Regions from separate parts of the Homo sapiens genome. Here region 1 is linked to region 2. Evidence: promoter capture Hi-C in human tissues and cell types (Jung and others, 2019). All regions are on one chromosome and are shown on one strand. The core of a region is centred on a gene start or on the middle of the fragment in contact, and the rest is flanking DNA. Distances in the headings are between cores, read along the strand shown. Region 1 overlaps AKAP8L (A-kinase anchoring protein 8 like). Region 2 holds the start of NOTCH3 (notch receptor 3).

What was found. The method cuts DNA at HindIII sites, captures the fragments that hold promoters and counts their contacts. A contact is called where the count stands out against the background at its distance.
Region 1: a fragment that was not itself captured here is called in contact with the fragment with the promoter of NOTCH3 in region 2 in 1 of the 25 tissues and cell types used here (IMR-90 fibroblasts).

The regions. Positions count from the first base shown.
Region 1 is chr19:15,391,895-15,395,119 of GRCh38, reverse strand. The region is part of intron 12 of AKAP8L (A-kinase anchoring protein 8 like); the gene reads left to right. Among named protein-coding and RNA genes, the nearest start is that of AKAP8, 14 kb to the right of the region's middle. The HindIII fragment of the contact is 4,231 bases long and covers 1-3,225 here.
Region 2 is chr19:15,199,589-15,202,486 of GRCh38, reverse strand. It overlaps NOTCH3 (notch receptor 3), which reads left to right and starts at 1,492. Exons shown (of 33, transcript NM_000435.3): 1 at 1,492-1,699. The coding sequence starts at 1,582. RefSeq lists enhancers at 608-1,107, 1,108-1,609 and a silencer at 2,196-2,422. The HindIII fragment of the contact is 7,500 bases long and covers 1-2,898 here.

The sequences.
Region 1 (3,225 bases), core at 569-3,068, 190 kb before region 2:
AGGCAGAGCTTGCAGTAAGCCAAGATCGTGCCACTGCACTTCAGCCTGGGCGACAGAGCGAGACTCTGTCTCAAAAAAAAAAAAGTTGGAAAATACGGGAGAGGTGATAGCAAAATATAAACTCAAACTTGATCCTAAAAGAAGTTAAAAAAAAAAAAAAGAACAAGCCATAGCAGCTGGTAACCGTAGAGAGGTTTGGAAGGATGATGAAAGATATTTAGAAGGCACCAGAAGTCATTGGTTTACAGAGATAATTTGAATACAGTCTAAATACTGTATTTTTTAGAATTCTAGACTGTAGAGATTAATGGAAAGCTTCTAATTATTGTTATCTTTGGTAACAGCTTTACTGAGATAGAATCACATACTGTACAATTCACGCATTTAAAGTATACAATTCAGTAGTCTTTGGGCTGGGCGTGGTGGCTCATGCCTGCAATCCCAGCACTTTGGGAAGCCAAGGTGGGAGGATCGCTTGAGGCTAGGAGTTCAAGGTTACAGTAAGTTATGATTGCACCACCACAGTCCAGACTGGGCAACAGAGCAAGACCCTGTCTCTAAAAAAACCAAACAAATGAAAAAAAAAACCAATTCATTGGTTTTTCACGTATTCACAGAATTCTGCAGTCATCAACCAGTCGATTACAGAATATTTTCATCACCTTAAAAAGAAACCCTTTAGCTATCAGCCCCCCCAACCTCTTGTCCTCCTCCAGCCTTAGGCAGCTACTAATCTATCTCTCTCTATTTGCTTATTCTAGACACTTCATATAAACAGAATCACATAATATGTGGTCTTCTGTGATTGGCTTCTTTCACTAAGCATGATGTTTTTGGGGTCCAGCCACATTGTAGCATGTATCAGAACTTCATTCCTTCATATGGCTTCATATTATTCCATTGTGTAGATAGATGTGGCACATTTTGTTTATTTATCTTTTTGGGTGTTTGGGTTGTTTTCACCTTTTGGCTATTATGAATAATGCTCTTAGAAACATTATTGTGCAAGTTTTTATGTGGACATATGTTTTCATTTTTCTTGAGTATATGACTAGGACTGGAATGTCTTGATCAAATAATAACACTTTAACTTGTGAGACTATTTTCCAAAGTGACTGTGCACCATTTTACATTTCCACCAGCAACATATAAGGGTCCTGATTTCTTCACATACTCACCAACACTTAGTTTCTGACTTTTTTTTTTTTTTTTTTTTGAGACAGAGATTCGCTCTTCTTGCCCAGGCTGGAGTGCAATGGCGCGATCTCGGCTCACCACAACCTCTGCCTCCCGGGTCCAAGCAATTCTCCTAGCTGGGATTACAGGCATGTGCCACCACGCCTGGCTAATTTTGTATTTTTAGTAGAGACGGGGTTTCTCCATGTTGGTCAGTCTGATCGCGAACTCCCGACCTCAGGTGATCCCCCTGTCTTGGCCTCCTAAAGTGGTGGGATTACAGGCATGAGCCACCGCGCCCGGCATTTTCTGACTTTTTGATCTAGTCATCCTAGTGGGTGGGAAGTAGTATCTCATTGTGGTTTTGATTTGCGTAGCCCTGATAACTGACTAATGGCATCTTTTCATGGGCTGGTTGGCCATTTTTGTATCTTTGGAGAAATGTCTATTCAAGTTCTTTGTGCATTTTTTAATTGTGTTGTCTTTTGTAGAGTTCTTTTTGTAAAGTCCCATATTTGATATGAGTTACAAATATTTTCACCCATTCTGTGGGTTTTTTCACCTTCTTGATGTGTCCTTTGTAGCACAATAGTTTTAATTTTTATAAAGTCCAATTTTCTTTTATTGCTTATGCTTTGGGTGTCATAACTAAGAATCTATTGATAAATCCAAGGTCACGAAGATTTACCCCTGTGTTTTCTTCTAAGAATTTTATGGTTTTAGCTTTTGCAGTTAGGTCTTTGTTCCATTTGAGTTAATTTATTTATATCGTATGAGGTAAGGTTCTAACTTTATTTTTTGCATCTAGATATTAAGTTGTTCCGGCACCATTTGAAAAAGAAATGAAAGAGACTGTTTTCCCCCCATTGAATGATCTTGGCATCTTTGTTGAAAGTCAGTTGACCATAGCTATTAAGTCTTCTAATCCATGAATATGGGATGTCTTTTCATTTACTGAGATCTAGTAAATGAATTAATTTCTTTCAAAGGTTTTGTAGTTTTCAGGGTGTAAGCTTTGTTCTTTATTGTTAAGATTTTTTTTTTTTTGAGACAGAGTTTTGCTCTTGTTGCCCAGGCTGGAATGCAGTGGTGCCATCTTGGCTCACTGCAACCTCCGCCTCCTGGGTTCAGGCAATTCTCCTGTCTCAGCCTCCTGAGTAGCTGGGATTACAGGCACGCACCACCACGCCCAGCTAATTTTTTGTATTTTTGGTAGACAGGGTTTCACCATGTTGGCGAGGCTGGTCTTGAACTCCTGACCTTGGGGGATCCACCCACCTCAGCCTCCCAAAGTGCTGGGATTACAGGCATGAGCCACCAGGCCCGGCCTGTTAAGATTATTTATAAGTATTTTATTCTTTCTGTTACTATTATGAATGGAATTGTTTTCTTGATATTTTTGGATTTTTTTTGCATGTGTATAAAAATACTTTTTTTTTTTATTCTTGAAATAGGGTCTCACTCTGTTGCCTAGGCTGGAGTGCAGTGGCACCATCATGACTCACTACAGCCTCCAACCTCCTGGGCTCAGGTAATCCTCCCACCTCAGCCTCCCAAGTAGCTGGGACTACAGGCATGTGCCACTATGCCCAGCTAATTTTTGTATTTTTTGTAGAGACAGGGTTTCACCATGTTGCCCAGGCTGGTCTCAAACTCCTGGGCTCAAGCAGTCCTCCTGCCTCAGCTTCCCAAAGTGCTGGGATTATAGGCATGAGCCACTGTGCTCAGCCAATATATTGATATTATACCCTACAACCTCACTGAACTATTTGTTTTTAATATTTCATAATTTTAATAATATTTCAGCTATGGCTAGGCATTATAGCTCATACCTGTAATCCAAACACTTTAGGAGGTGAAGGTGGGAGGATTGCTTCAGTCCAAGAGTTTGAGACCAGCATGGGCAACATAGTGAGACCCTGTCTGTATAAAAGAAACAAGTTAGCCAGGTGTGGCGGCAAGTGCCTGTAGTCCCCGCTACGCAGGAGGCTGAGGTAAGAGGATGGCTTGAGCCTATGAGGTTGAGGTTGCAGTGAGCTATGATCCTAC
Region 2 (2,898 bases), core at 243-2,742:
GCGCGGTGGCTCACGCCTGTAATCCCAACACTTTGGGAGGCTGAGGCAGGCAGATCACGAGGTCAGGAGATCGAGACCATCCTGGCTGACACGGTGAAACCCCGTCTCTACTAAAAATACAAAAAAAAAATTAGCAGAGCATGGTGCCAGTTGCCTGTAGTCCCAGCTACTCGGACGGCTGAGGCAGGAGAATGGTGTGAACCCAGGAGGCGGAACTTGCAGTGAGCGGAGATCATGCCACTGCACTTCAGCCTGGGCAACAGAGCGAGACTCCGTCTCAAAAACAAACAAACAAGTAAACAAAAACCCAGAAAAAATTAGCCACGTATGGTGGCGCACACCTCTAATCCCAGCTACTTGGCAGATTGTGGGGGTGGGGGCTGAGGAAGGAGAATCGCTTGAACCTGGGAGGTAGAGCTTGCAGTGAGCCAAGATAGGGACACTGCACTCCAGCCTGGGTGACAGAGCGACACGCTGTCTCAAAAAAAAAAAAAAAAAGAAAAGAGAATTAATCAAATTGAGCCAGATAGGCTGAGGCCCAAAGCTGTGTGGGGTATGGGGGTGGGACTAGGGGGCTGGGGTGACCCTTTGAGAGTCACAGAGGAAGTGGGTTGCTTTCTGGGAGGGCTGAGAGCAAGAAGAGTTTGTGTGTGCATGTGTGAACACACACACATGCATGTGACTCCTAGTACGTGTCTGAGGTCTGAGGCTGCAAATGTAGTCCTAGGCTCCTGGCCTGGCTGAGTGAGTTTTAGCGGTTTTTTGTTTGTTTGTTTTGTTTGAGACAGGGTCTTACTCTGTTGCCCAGGCTGGAGCGCAGTGGTACGATTTCGGCTAAGTGCAACCTCAGCCTCCTGGGTTGAAGCGATTTTCCTGCTTCAGCCTCTCGAATAGCTGGGACTACAGGCGTGCGCCACCACGCTCAGCTAATTTTTGTATTTTCAGTAGAGTCCGGGTTTCACCATGTTGGCCAGGCTGGTCTCCAACTCTTGACCTCAAGTGATCCATCCACCTCTGCCTCTCAAAGTGCTGGGATTACAGGCCGGAGCCACCGCGCCCGGTCCGACTTTTAGGTTTGTGAATGTTTTAGATCAGAGTCCTGGGGAAGCTTGGTGCATGGGCTTGCATTTGTGCGTCCGTGGCTGTGGGTCCATGAGCCTCTCAGGACGTGACTGGCCTCAGTTTCCAGAGTTTCTGGGAGGCTGTGTTTTTTGTCCCGGCTCCAGAGGTGTCCGGCTCTGGGTGTGTACTGGGGGATGGGGATGGGGTGCGTGGGCGTTCACGAGGTTGGGTGTGCCCGCCACTCCGGGTTCTGCCCGCGTCTCACTGCATGCTCGGCCTGGGTTTCCGAGGGTCCGCGCGTCCCAGGCTGTGCGGGTGGAGGGTGGGCAGGGACCCCGGGAGGCCGGGCGGGGGGCGGGGGCGCGCTGGGCCGGCCCCGGGGCGGGGCGAGCCTTCGAGGGCTGGGGGCGGGGCGGCCCGGCCGCCTCACTTCGGCGAAGTTGGCGGCGCGGAGGCTGGCCCGGGACGCGCCCGGAGCCCAGGGAAGGAGGGAGGAGGGGAGGGTCGCGGCCGGCCGCCATGGGGCCGGGGGCCCGTGGCCGCCGCCGCCGCCGTCGCCCGATGTCGCCGCCACCGCCACCGCCACCCGTGCGGGCGCTGCCCCTGCTGCTGCTGCTAGCGGGGCCGGGGGCTGCAGGTGAGGGGCCGGGACCTGGCGGATGGGACGAGGGCGGCAGAGGGGGAGTGCAAGAACCCCCAAGGCCGGGGCTGGCGGGGGTTCATGGGAGGCAGGAACCAGGGTCGGGGAAGGGGCGCAGGAGCCCCGGGCTTCATGCCAGTCCTGGAGGACCCAGAGATTCAGAATGGGGAGGACCCCAGAGGCCCAAGGAACAGGGACCCTTGAGCGATTAGAGCTGAAGATGAAGGGACCCAGGAGTCCGAGACTGGGAGCTCGAGGTGCGGGGATCAGGGACTCGAGGTGGGGGGGTGCGTACAGAGTTCGGGACTCGTCCCCATCCAACTCACGCCTGGAGTCCTGGGTAGGTTATGATTGGGGGCCCAGGTACTTCTAGGCCGGGGACCTCTCGCACAAAAGCCCCCCCACCCCGCCCCCGACACCCCGGGCGGGCTGGGCCAGGCGGGGGGTGGGGAGGGGGCGCGAAGTTCTGGGAGCTCTGAACTCGGAGAAAACTTCCCAGGCCGGCGCGCAGCAAGACCCGGAGCCGGATTCCGAGCCGGAGCCTCGGCGGCGCGCGCGCCCCCTCCCCCGCCCGCAGCCCGCCTCTCTCCTCTGGCCGCGGGGACCCGGAGGCCCTGGGACCCCGCCCCTGCGCGGGGAGGGGAAGGGGCGAGGGCCCACGTGCTCCCCTTCGGCTCCAGCGCCCCCTCCCCGCGGCCAGAGCCCCTCCCCAGCCGGCCAGGGGCCCCCGCCCCTCCTCCTCTCCTCCCTCCCCTCCCCCGCTCGGGACAATGGCCGCGCCGTCTAGACACCCCCTCCCTCCGGCCGGCCTCGCGCTTTCTTTGCCAGACAAAGCGGGACCCGCGGCTGGGCCGGGGAGGGGGCTGCGGGGGCACCCCCCTCACCGCTACGGGAGGCCTGGTGGGCGGGGGAGGGGCGCGGGCCAAGGCCCCTGGCCAGGGGTCCCAGACGCCAGTGTGGGGCTTGGCGCTGGGCGGGGTGGGGGTTTCGGGAGTGAACGGCCTCCCCAGCCCAGCCCCGGGGCCCGGACGGGGCAGGACCAGGCAGGAGCCGCCGCCTCCGCCGGACCAGCGGCGCACACACATGGCCTGTGACACACTCGCTGGCACACATAGCTCTAGGTCACGTAACAGAGATGCAAACCTGCACACACACAGCACACTCGCAGACTTGCACACCTGGCTCAGGAAAGACAC